Linked DNA regions of Homo sapiens: regions 1 and 3 are each linked to region 2. The links are contacts of gene promoters, found by promoter capture Hi-C in blood cells and fetal thymus (Javierre and others, 2016). All regions are on one chromosome and are shown on one strand. Each heading gives the region's core, a stretch centred on a gene start or on the middle of the fragment in contact. The rest is flanking DNA. Distances are from core to core; before and after follow the strand shown.

What was found. The method cuts DNA at HindIII sites, captures the fragments that hold promoters and counts their contacts. A CHiCAGO score of 5 or more calls a contact.
Region 1: a fragment that was not itself captured here is called in contact with the fragment with the promoter of USP13 in region 2 in 8 of 17 cell types (total B cells, naive CD4 T cells, naive CD8 T cells and 5 more); the score reaches 11.9 in total B cells.
Region 3: a contact is called between a fragment that was not itself captured here and the fragment with the promoter of USP13 in region 2, in 1 of 17 cell types (M1 macrophages). The highest score is 5.9, in M1 macrophages.

What each region holds. Positions count from the first base shown.
Region 1 is chr3:182,681,265-182,685,322 of GRCh38, forward strand. No RefSeq gene overlaps it. Among named protein-coding and RNA genes, the nearest start is that of LINC02031, 39 kb to the left of the region's middle. RefSeq lists silencers at 998-1,067, 1,478-1,547 and enhancers at 1,218-1,267, 2,392-2,441. The HindIII fragment of the contact is 1,092 bases long and covers 1,615-2,706 here.
Region 2 is chr3:179,650,858-179,654,832 of GRCh38, forward strand. USP13 (ubiquitin specific peptidase 13) reads left to right here and starts at 2,183. Exons shown (of 21, transcript NM_003940.3): 1 at 2,183-2,536. The coding sequence starts at 2,369. RefSeq lists silencers at 1,915-1,994, 2,005-2,344 and an enhancer at 2,013-2,656. The HindIII fragment of the contact is 8,280 bases long and covers 1,722-3,975 here.
Region 3 is chr3:182,806,216-182,810,475 of GRCh38, forward strand. All of the region lies in intron 1 of ATP11B (ATPase phospholipid transporting 11B (putative)), which reads left to right. Among named protein-coding and RNA genes, the nearest start is that of ATP11B, 15 kb to the left of the region's middle. The HindIII fragment of the contact is 1,053 bases long and covers 806-1,858 here.

The DNA.
Region 1 (4,058 bases), core at 911-3,410, 3.0 Mb after region 2:
AACTTCTAGAAGTCAAAAAGTACCCAAACACACACACATACACACAAACTTATGCTTTGTAGACGGGAGGGAGGTTTGCCATATGTGCGACAAACCGAAGGTTAAATCCTTATTACCTAAAACACAGCTTATAAATTCATAAGAAAAAGATAACTTATCATAATAAATGAATAATATTAAGCAATTCACAAAACAAGAAATTCAAATGTTCTACTAACTTTTTATTCTTTTATTCATTCAATCAATATCTATTGGGCATTTGGTATGTGCTCAGCATAATACAAGACACCAGGTACATGGTGATGAGCAAAAACTGGCCCTTCTCTGTAATTATTCGCAATATAATATTAAACCCAACTTACAATAAAAGAAATTCAAAATAAAATGGTGCCAGGGAATAATCAGACAAGTGTAGAATTGCATACAAAAATATTAATTGAGCTATTATAATAAGGAAAACTTGAAACTACCTTAATGTTTATTAATTCACTGTAAGTTAAATAAATGGATATAGACACTAAATTTGTCCCTAAAAATATGTAATGTCATTGGACAATTCCCACTGCAAAATATGATGGAAAAAAGCATGTGATACTGATGTTTAGATATATGCAAATTTCATATTTTCTACAGTAAAAGTATTATTCTAATAATTAAGGAAAACGCTTTTTAAACAACCAACATGAATGCTTTTGACAGGGATGCCATCGTGTAAGTTAATTGCCAAATAAACTAAATAAACTTTTTTTTTTACTATTATTCTTCAGTTGACAAATAAAAACTGTATAATTTACATTGTATGACATAATGTTTTGAAATATACATAAATATGCTTTCTTGGATGCTCACAATTTGGGTACACTTTGGAGCATACTGGAAAATGCTCCTAACGTTGGAAGCAACACAGTCCCCTTACTTGAGCGATAAAATGTTACTTTGTTCCTTAAATTAAAGAAAGGTTCGAAGTTTAGTTTGACATTCACCTCTGCCTTTATAAAACAAACACAGCCTATAAAATAACTTAAACGCCCAGAGTGCCGAGTTTCGTCGGGCCCTGGCTGCGCCGGGCCGAGCCCTGCCCCGCGGAGGTCGCCGCCCAGCACGGTCTGCAGATGGCAGCCTCTCGCGGAAAGCCCCGCAACGCCGCTTCCTGCCTGGGGGCGGCACTTGGGGCCCGCGCCGGGGTTTCAGAAACCTGTTCGAGCCGTTCCTTTATGGCGGAACGTTCTTATTTAGTAAATATTTATTCCACTCCCCGAGGACCCAGCACTAATCACTGCCACTTCTCTTTAATAATAAATGGTGAACTTCAAATGCGGCAGAACTCAGCCGGCTAATCAGTGCTCGCCGGGAGGTGCAAAACTGTCTGAAGCCCACCGGTGGACATGAAAGACGGAACATTTCCTGTTCCAGCTCTCGGTGGCCCAGAATAAACTTCAGCCGAATGAGAGGATGTCTAGGCGGCCGCCCCCCGCGCGCCGGCCCGGGAGCCCGGGTTCCATCTGCCCGCGGCCCGGAGGTGCGCCCCTGCCCGCTTCGCCCCGGGGACCCTCGGAACCCGCGGCTCTGCCCTCCACACAATCTGGGCTGCCGCTCCCTTGGGCTTTTCGTGAAAGCTTCCTTTTAAATTCGCTGTTTGGTCGCAAGCCATTTAGCCCTTTCCGTGGGCCCGGGCGAGGGGCGGAGAGCGGAGAGCGACCCGAGCTCCTGGGAACCTGGGGGCTCCGCGCTGGGGACTCCAGGCCGCCCGCCTCGGCTCTGGCCAAGGGGTCAGCACGTGGGGTGGCGTTTGCCCCAGCATTCCAGCCCTTTGGTCTCCAAAGGCTTTTTGTATTCACTAGGGAAGGTAAGGGCCGCCCCTTTAATGGTTGCATTTTGGAATGTAACAAACTATGAGGACCACCCGGTACGCTTGCGTTGGCATCATACGAGCCCCGCGGTCCCACCGTCACCCACGGCTGATTTGGAAATGCCACGGGGCCTTTGGACATATGGAAAGACTTTTGGCCCAGACACAATAATAAAAATATTCAAAACGTCTTGAGACATAACTCATTTATCTACAATTCTGTTTACTCAAGGTGTAATTTTCATTCTATATTGCCCATTCTGGTGAAGACATGAGTGTTTGAAGCGGGCTGACTATAGTTTTATGATAAGCCATATTTTAGCTTTAAATAAGAACTGCATTGCCTCCAAAGTATTCCATCTTTTGTGTAACAGAGACCCACAGATCCTAAGTGAAATTTGTTCTCAAATTTAACACATTTCTGTAACATATTTAAACCTGAGTTAATTTAGAATGGGTTGCTGGCACCACTGGGATTGATACTGAAATGGTTTTGCCTCATTCACATCGAGCCCTGCAAATGTACTTTAAATTCTACGCTCTTAATAATCCCTAGGCATGGAGAAAAGATTGGAAGTTCTTTTTCTACAACCGCTCACTGAAAACAACACAGTGCACGGTTTCAGTGATGAGCTTGGAGTGCCCCTCTGTGGAAGAAGGTGGGCACTGCAATTTTTCTTTCCTAAATTGACTTGCCGGTGTCTTAGGAACTGTGGTTCTTTACCTCTGCCAACCATGAAATTCGATGTTACTTTTCCATTAACTTTTGTGGATTGAACCTCACTCCTTGTTTTATATAGAAACTTAAATATGTGTTGAAAATAATGAATGAATCTTCTTGTCTCTCCTGCCCCCAAAGCTTTCCAACTGATGATAAAAGATGAGAACATTTTCTTGCAAAGCCCAAAGCTGTGTTAGTACCTATTCTGACATTTAGGACTAGACAGAATGGCTTGATAAGGAGCACAGATAGATGTTATCTTATGTGCCCGCAGGGGCTGCTACAGAAAGCTACTGAGACAGAGTTTGAGCTCAGGAAGAAAAGAATGATGTGATACAGAAAGTTAGGTGCAGAAAGTAAGTTAGTTACTCTCCCTCCAAAGAGTTGAAACCTGTGTTATTGATCTATAACAGTGCTGGCCATTGGCTCATTGTCGTGAGTTTATTTCATTTACTTCCGTTTTAATCTCAAAAGTCAAAACAGTGTATTCAGGCAAGGCAAGGTGACTCACACCTGTAATCTCAGCACTTTGGGAGCCTGAGGCAGGAGGATCACCTGAGGTCAGGAGTTTGAGACCAACCTGGGCAACGTAGCCAGATGCCCATCTCTCAAAACATTTAAAAATTAACTGGTCATGGTGGCGGGTGCTTGTAGTCCTAGCTACTTGGGAGGTTGAGGAGGGAGGATCACTTGAGCCCAAGAGTTCAAGGTTGCAGTGAGCCAAGGTTGCACCACGGCACTCCAACCTGGAGTGAAACCTAAATTTGGTTTCCCTCAGAGGTGATAAATCTTCACCTGAGTCATATGTTCAAGTTATACTTTAACAAGAGATATTTTCATTAGGATGCTTTTAACTGCGACTAAAACCCAAAATCTGTCTTATACAATACATGAGTACATTGACTCATATAACTGAAAATTCAGCTCAAGCTTCAAGCAAGGGTTGATATAGAGACCCCCCACAGTGTCACCATAGTATTAATTTCCTTCCATTTTTCTGCTTTATTGTCCAGGATATTGCCAAAAGGGGGATGGATGAAGCCACCAACATCATGGCTGCTCGAAGGAGGTAACTCAATGTTCTCTAAGAAGGAACGACACATGAAAATGGCTGTCATTTGAAAAAAATATATTTTTATCAAAGAGAAAATAATCTACAGATAAGACAGTATTTAAGAAGCAAAGCTTTATTTATTTTGAGTCTGTTTAGGTCCATGGTGGAGGAACTTGTCCTCCCATTTGCCACAGTATAAACGTTTAGTATGCCAATAAAAAGAGGCTGTGGTGAATCCCAACACACACACCAGGCTTCACACAGCACACCAAACTCAGTGCACCTGAGAGAATCCATGGTCTTGACTCTTCATCGTCTAGGGAAGTAACTGAGACTCAGGGCAGAGAAGTGAACATAAATTTCATCATATGAAAACTGAAAAGGCACTTCAAAACGTAAGTGGGGATCAAAGCTCTGCACACCAAAACTTGTTT
Region 2 (3,975 bases), core at 933-3,432:
CATCAGCTCTTGTGAGACTTATTCACTATCACAAGAACAGCACGAGAAAGACCTGCCCCCATGATTCAATTACCACCTACTGGGTCTCTCCCACAACACGTGGGAATTCAAGATGAGATTTGGGTGGGGACACAGCCCTACCATACCAGGTAGTAAGTTCTCCCTTAACCTCAGGCTTTCAGTTCTTCTCCACAGAGCCTGACTAGTTTCTTGTGTATTGCTCTAGAGACATCCTAAAGCCAAACAAGTGGGCATGCATACACATATGTATATTTTAAGGGGCTACATTAAAAATATTTACTACAAGTACAACCAACTGGAATGAAGGCCCATGGTATATAGGATGTGCCAAAATGCCTACTGCATATTATCAGCCTTGCATGTATTCCTTGCTTTTATACACTAGTTTGCTTAAATTGCTTTTATCATCTAGTAATAATTTGGAGATTGTTCCACATCAGCACACGTAGAGCAACTTCATTCTTTTCAATGGTACTGTATTTTAACCACTTTCTACAGAAGGATCTTTAGGTTTTCCCCAGACGTTTGTTACTCGAAACAGTGCTCTAACAAATATCTTTACACAGCCTTAATTTATCTGTTGCATAAATGTCTAGACAAGGAAATGCTGGGGAAAACAGTATGCACATATAAAGTTATGACTGGTATTATTACATTTCCTTCCAAAGAGGTTTATCGTTTTTATCCCCACCAACAATGTAATGAGGGTCTACTTCCCAAACCCATGCTAACTCAATATATCTTTACCAGCCCAAAGGATGAAAAACAGTGTCTCACTGATTTAATTTGTATTTAATCTAAGATTAAATTTTAAGTTTTGTAAAACCAAGTTTATCTCTGTAATTGGAGAAAACATCATCCATTAACGTGAAAGGTAATAAGCTGATGAGACTAAATTCAAAGCAAAAGCTCGCTGAGAGGATCTGCCCAATGAGGAAGATGACAGTAGTGTCTGATTTTTTGCTCAGTGCCACCTCCTCCTTTTCCAACAGATAGCATTTGGGAGTGCTGAGTTATAAGAAAGTGTGGTGCGCTCGAGGCTTGCTTGAGGGTATGGAAATCTTGAGATAGGTCTGGAGAACCAGGGAGAGTTAAAAGAGAAAAAAAGTAAGAAAAAAAAAAGAACTTAAGGACTATCTGATCTGAGAGAGGCTTACAAAAATTAGCGTTTTGGTTCACTATTTCTCGCTATTTCTGCATTTCATTAACTGGCAGGGATCACTGGATACTCTGTCATGAATACATATGTTGGGTGTAGTTAGAGAACCTCAATGTCATTGAACCCGTCTTGTGGGTTTTTTGGAGAGAATGAGAGTATGCTGGGAGACATGCTCTGCTTGCAAATGATCAACCCCCGAGGCCAACCCCATTCATCATTTATTTTGAGGAACTGATGATCAAGACAGGAATATGTATGCCTGCCTACAAAATCCTCAAATCAGGCCACTGAATGTTCGACATGAGAACTTTGAATCACATAGAAGATACTCCAAAGGCAGAGAAAAATAGAAAGCCTTCCGACGCCCTGAAAAAATCTTGACCATCCCTGACTTCCCCCAATATGTAAGAAAACCTGTATTATTATTACACACACACTCCCACACACACCCCGCCCTCCCCCACACACACACCCTCTATCCTCACTCGATCTTATTCTATTCGCTCTATTTTTGAGCCTTGGATGTTAAAGTAAGGAACGAAGCTTAGTGGGGAAGCACTGAAGTGCATGGCGCAAATTTAGATTTAAGCCTCACGTTAGATTTCAGATTTGCACATCGAGTCCCGCCCCTATCCAATCCGGGGACGTCACCGCCCTAGTCTTCGGCTGTTTTAAAAGCAAGCGGTTTTTAAAACCCCCAATCCTGCTCTTTGTGTTGGCCTCCTCGGAGTTGCCCCTCTGCAAGCCAACAATTCGGGATAGAAAACACCTCCGTGGTGTTTTCCCGGGGCCCTCCCGCGCCGCGTTCGGCCGCCAGCCCGCTCGAGCTCCCGCGCCAACGCCTCAGGGGTTCGCCCTCCGCCCCCCGCCGCCGCGCCCGGCCCACGCGCAGGGCCCCTCTCCAGCGCCCCCTCCCCGGCACGCTGCGGCTGGCGCTCCCCAGCCCCGCCTGACGCTGCAGCTGGGCCGGAGACTCGCCATTGGATTAAAAATAGCGTCGCCAGTCCGCCCCAAGCCCGCGGTGCCCGCTCCCGCCCCGCAGCCCGCTCTCCCCGCCCGCCCCGGCTCGGCCGGCTGCCGTTGCCCGCGCAGCCCGCCCGTCAGCCCGCTCGCTGGCGCCGCCGCCGCCGGCAGACCCCGCGCTCCGGCTCCGGCTCGGCTCGCTCGGCTCCGGTGCGCGCCGAGGCCATGCAGCGCCGGGGCGCCCTGTTCGGCATGCCGGGCGGCAGCGGAGGCAGGAAGATGGCTGCAGGAGACATCGGCGAGCTGCTAGTGCCCCACATGCCCACGATCCGCGTGCCCAGGTCCGGCGACAGGGTCTACAAGAACGAGTGCGCCTTCTCCTACGACTCTCCCGTAAGTGAGGCGCCTCGGGGGAGGGTCGCGGGGCCGGCGGCCTGCGGCACGTGAAGCCGGGGGAGAAGATGCGCAGTGGCGGCCGGGACCTCTTCTCTTCCTCCGGGCGGCAGAGTTGGCTCAGGAACACTGCAGTTCGGCAGACACTTAGTGAGCGCCCCAGGGCTGCTGCAGCCGAGGACTGGCTCGTGCTGGTGGTTTTGCTCCGCCAGCCTCCCCAGGCTGGAAGGGCCCGATTCCCAGCAGCTTGCACACAGCCCCGCCGCCGTTTAAAGATAGATGAAATACAAGAGTTCCCTGTTCCGAACTGCACGTTGCAGATCGTTTGCGTCCTCCGCGGGGCAGAGCGCAGGGCGGGTAGGTGGACGGGATGATCCCCCCACACCCCGGGACACACACAGCCCTTCTTTTTCTGGGACCACTTGCTTTGCTCAGGGATCCCCACTTCTGGACAATTCTGATTTGCTCTCTGAGCTTTTCTTCCACCAGTTCCCATTTCACCCCACTCCTTTTCTTGTCTTTAGAATGTCAGGGCCAGGCGCGGTGGCTCACGTCTGAAATCCTAGCACTTTTTAAGAGGCGGAGGCGGGCGGATCGTTTGAGGTCAGGAGTTCGAGACCAGCCTGGCTAATATGGCGAAACCCCATCTCTACTAAAAAAGAACCCCAAAATTAGCCGGGCGCGGTGGCGGGAGCCTGTAGTCCCAGCTACTCGGGAGGCTGAGGCTTGAGAATCGCTTGAACCGGGAAGGAGGAGGCTGTAGTGGGCCGAGATCGCGCCACTGCCCTCCAGCCTGGGCGACAGAGCGAGACTCCGTCTCAAAAAAAAAAAAAAAAAAATGTCAGACGAAACCTTCCGGTGCCTCCACTCGGGCAGCAGAAATAGGGGATCTACTGGATTGCGATGGTTTTCTTAAGCCTTCCCCACCTTGCCCTTCTAAATGAGTCACTTGGACTGACATGCGCAAGTATAAATTATTAAAAGTTCAATCCCGAGTCGTGACCTCGGAGAATGAGGAGGAAGCTGAGAGGGATCGCCGCCTTCCACCCGGGGCGGTTGGTGGTGGTTTTCACCTGGTTCTATGTGAATGTGTGAGAAGCAGCAGGAGGGTGAATGTCCCTTTCAAAAGTCAAAATGGGCTTCAAAGTGACTCAGCTGTCTGGCGTTTATCATGTCTTTTTGAGGACCAGGTTATTTTTATCCACCCACTTTAGATCTCATATGTCACCCGGCAGATCTCAATGCATTGGGAGGCGCATGGATTGGATGGACCGAGGCAGGTCTCGCAATGGTCTAATGTATTTTATTCATAGCATGTGGACTATTGTCAGAGGGGAAAAGAAAAGTCCAAATGAGCGGCAACATTTCCAAAGTTTCCTTTATTATCTGTGGGTTGATTTTGGCTGGCTTCAAAGCACTTTTGCTCGACACACACTGGA
Region 3 (4,260 bases), core at 82-2,581, 3.2 Mb after region 2:
GCTGTTATGAAATATGCTTTTAATCTAATTGTCATTACTTTGTTGGTAATATCTTTCACATTATTTTTAAGATTATCTTTGTCCTTGATATTTTGTAATTTTACTGTGATGTATCCATCATGTTTTTTCATATTGTTTTTCCTGCTCTGCATTTGCGTGTGCTTTCAATCTGAAGACTATACAATTCAGAAAAATTTTTAGCCATTTTTTCTTTAAAATATTATTTCTCAGCCTTTAGTTTTCTCATTCTAGAACTCTTGCTTGACATATGTTGAAGCCTCTTAATTTGTTCTCTATGGCTCTTTTCTTATTCTCATCTCATTTTCTATCTGTGCTGTTTTCAGCAGAAATTTTTTATTTCTAGCTTCTAGTCCACCAATTCTCTTGTTTTCACTGTAGTTTATCCTGTCTTCTGAATTTTTACTTAAATGACAATTTCTCATTTTCAGCATTTATTTATTATTGGACCTTGTTCATTTCTGTCTGCTCTTTCTGCATATGTGCCTGATTTGTTTCATAATTTTTCATTAAAAATATTATTCCATTATTCCTTTGGAGATCTTAAACATACTTATTTTAAAGGTACCCAGCTTTTTCCAGGCTTCTTTCAAAGGTGGGAGCAAGCCTGGACCCAAGCACAATACTACTAATTGAACCTGACTCTAGAACCATGGTGCAGAGGGGGTACTGCTGATTCTTATCCGGCTATTCTTATCCTATAGGAGTTGAACTTCAAACTGCTTATTTCCACACTGAGAGTCCCAGAGGCTCAGCTCCTGATTACAGAAATGATTATCTTATGTTAAGCTTGGCTAAGTATTAATTTAAAAAAAAAAAAGACTATCTGTCTTTGCTTTTGTGAAGTAAAGGGAACAGTTCAAAATGTAGACCTTCCCAAAGCCAATAGCCAATTAGTGTCACAGCCAGGACTTGAACCTAGAGAGTTTTTCCAGGGAGTTTAGTAGTGTGGAATAGAATTAGCCATAGTAGGGAGAATGAAATAACAGTAGCTTCCACCGTTATCTCTTAAATCTGCCTGAAAGTGTGATAAGACTACAGAATGCATTAGGGGAAGGAAAGTCTAGCAGTGGTATTCTGGAGATGGTGGTGACAAGTTTGTAGAGGAAAAAGAAAAAAAAATGATCAAGAGTTTCTAGTCCAGCCATGGCCATTCTCAAGGTGAAATATATTTTATTAGTTAGGCCTGGCTTATATCTTAATGTGTATCTCCTCTTACACATGTTATATAGTGTAAATGGCAATGTGTACATTGATTTTAAACAGCGTGGCAAATTATTTTTTAGAGTTTTCAAAAGTTTTAAATTCCTTGGGAGCTCAAAAATTATTTTGACATTTGAGAAATTTGTGACCTTGAAATAGAAATTAGAATTGCAGCAAAGAGATAAGGTGGTGCCCATTTTTAATAATAGCTTTTATCATATCCATAAGGAAATTATGTCATACTTTTAAATCTATTAAGGTTATATTTTATAATATTCTGTAGGAAAATAAGTGAGTCATCTATGATTTAATGCTATTTTAGTCAAAATTGTACTTATTCTACATATTTTACTTTTTGTGCTTATTAAAAAGGCTTTTTTTAAAAATGAAGTTTTATTCAGGGGAGGGGCGTGGTTTTCTCATTTTGGTATTTCCATAGTTCTAAGCATATTACCTTGCTCATGATACTTATAAATTGAATTATAAGATCAAATACTAAGTGGCTTGATATTTCAGAATGATCAAACATTTTAACTTAACTGAGTAGCAAACACGTTTTTCTTTATAAGTGATACACATAGGTATTGTAAGATTTTGCTTTGAAGAGTCTTTTGCAATGAGTGTAATTGGCGGATAAAGCTTGAGCACAATATAGTAAGTCCAAGTCTTAATCATATGTTACCTAGAACGTTGTTTCTTCACTTTTTCATCTCCTGAACTACAAGGGGAATGTAGATACTCTTGCTTATTTTAGCTCTCCACTATGCTCTTTAAGGTACGATAAGTTCAGAAACAGTGAGAGTGAACCTGATTGTTTACTATGGAGAGACTGTAAAGTAGTTCTCTAATCTTGTGTTTTCCTGTTGAAGTTCCAGTGTTGTAAAGGAATTGGTTTCTAACTTAGATATGCAGGAGACCCTCATACCTTGTGGATCCAAATCTTTATGCAAAGTTAAAGGGAATTGATGCAGTGCTAACCTGCCAATGTTGATCAACATTTTTTTTCCAGCATATATTTGTAGTATTTTTTTTTTAAAGAGGGAAAAGCTGAAGTATCTTAGGAATGTATTATGAGAAAGGGAAAGTCAAAATTTGTAAAGAATGCTTTTAACAGTTTTTTTTAGTTGGTAGTCTCCCAGGCCATGGGTTCCATAATGATGATGTTTCATGTAGATTGAGATAAAGCTCTCAGTGGTCTATGGCAAAATGAGAAAAATGAGGTCAGTGTAATCTGTGTGTTTGCATAAATTTATAGATGTCCTTGTTTTTGAGTAATTTTTTTAACATTTTAAACATAAACTTTATTTTAGAATGGTTTTTGATTAACAAAAAAGTTGCAAATATAGTGGAGAGGATTCCTGTACCCTTCTCTCCCACCCAGTTTCTCTTATTGTTAACATTTTACATTACTGTGCAGCGTTTGTTACACCAATATTGATGTGTTGTTATTTAACTGCATACTTTATTTGAATTTTATTAGTTTTTCCCTAATGTTCTTTTTCTGGTTTAGTTTCTCAGACTTTAATTTAAAGTCTTAGATTGTTTCCCTTGCTTTCTTTTTTATTAATATTCTTGGTTAGAAAAATAAAAAGTTGGCAACCCTATGCCAGTTTCCTAATTTAAAAAAGTTTTACCGATCTGTGAAATCCAAAACTGTTCCCTCCTATAGGAGATTAAAAAAATAGAAGTCCAAAACTCTGAGAACCAATGCCTTTGGTTATTAGAAGTTAGTGTGATAACCATTAACAATTAAAGACTAAGTTTCCTAATTACATTTTATTTATATTCTATTTTATTTCTTTTATTTAATTTTAATTATTTTATTTTATTGAGACAGACTTTTGGTCTGTCGCCCAGGCTGGAGTGCAATGGTGCCATCTCCGCCTACTGCAACCTCCGCCTCCTGGGTTCAAGCGATTCTCCTGCCTCAGCCTCCCAAGTAGCTGGGACTACAGGCATGCTCCACCACGCCTGGCTAATTTTTGTATTTTTAGTAGAGACAGGGTTGTGCCATGTTGGCCGGGCCGTTCTTGAACTCCTGGCCTCAAGCGATCTGCCTGCCCTGGCTTCCCAAAGTGCTGGGATTACAGGTGTGAGCCACCACGCCCTGCCCGCTCTGTACACTAATAAGCAATCCTGTACACATCCTTTGCTTGAACTGTCACCATTTTGCTTGCTGGGTTCCAATATCAAGTCCAGCCCTCTTTTCTAAGCTCTAAGCAAGTATATCCAGTTGCTTTCCAGATTGTTAGATATCCATGCTAGTTGTCTCACATTTAAAACAGGAAACAATCCTGATTTGATCTTAAGTATGTGAGATGAAATAGCTTAAGGCATAAATCACTAAGATTTCATCAATTCCATATGGGCAGGGACTAAATCATGTATTTCTTTCATCATCATTAGTCCTTAGCACATTACAAGGCACATAGTAAGTATTCAGTAAGTATTCTTTGATTGGTTGCTAAAGTACATTTTTAAAAAATCGAATACAGGAAAATATTAAAAGGCAAGAATTGCAGATCAGCAGTAGAATTTTCTTAGTTATTATGCAGGGTAAATGAGCTGCTTTTTGAAATAACTGAAAATAAGCTAAAATTCTTCTGTTTTTTAAAAATACATTTTCAGCCGGTCACGGTGGCTCATGCACTTTGGGAAGCCGAGGCGAGCAGATCACTTGAGATCAGGAGTTCAAGACCAGCCTGGCCAACACGGTGAAACCCCATCTCTACTAAAAATACAAAAGATAGCCTGGCATCGTGGTGGGTGCCTGTAATCCCAGCTACTCAGGAGGCTGAGACAGGAGAATTGCTTGAACCCAGGAGGTGGAGGTTGCAGCGAGCCGAGATGGCACCACTGCACCTCAGCCTGAGCGATGGAGCAAGACTCCACCTCAAAATAAATAAATAAATTTTTCAGAATTATGTTAGTGTGATCCAGTGATGCTAAGTAATCATTTCTCTGCTTAAAGTTTAATTTTCATAGCAATAGTTTAGGATTTACTGAGTCTTTTTTTTTTCTCTTTACCCTGCGTAGACA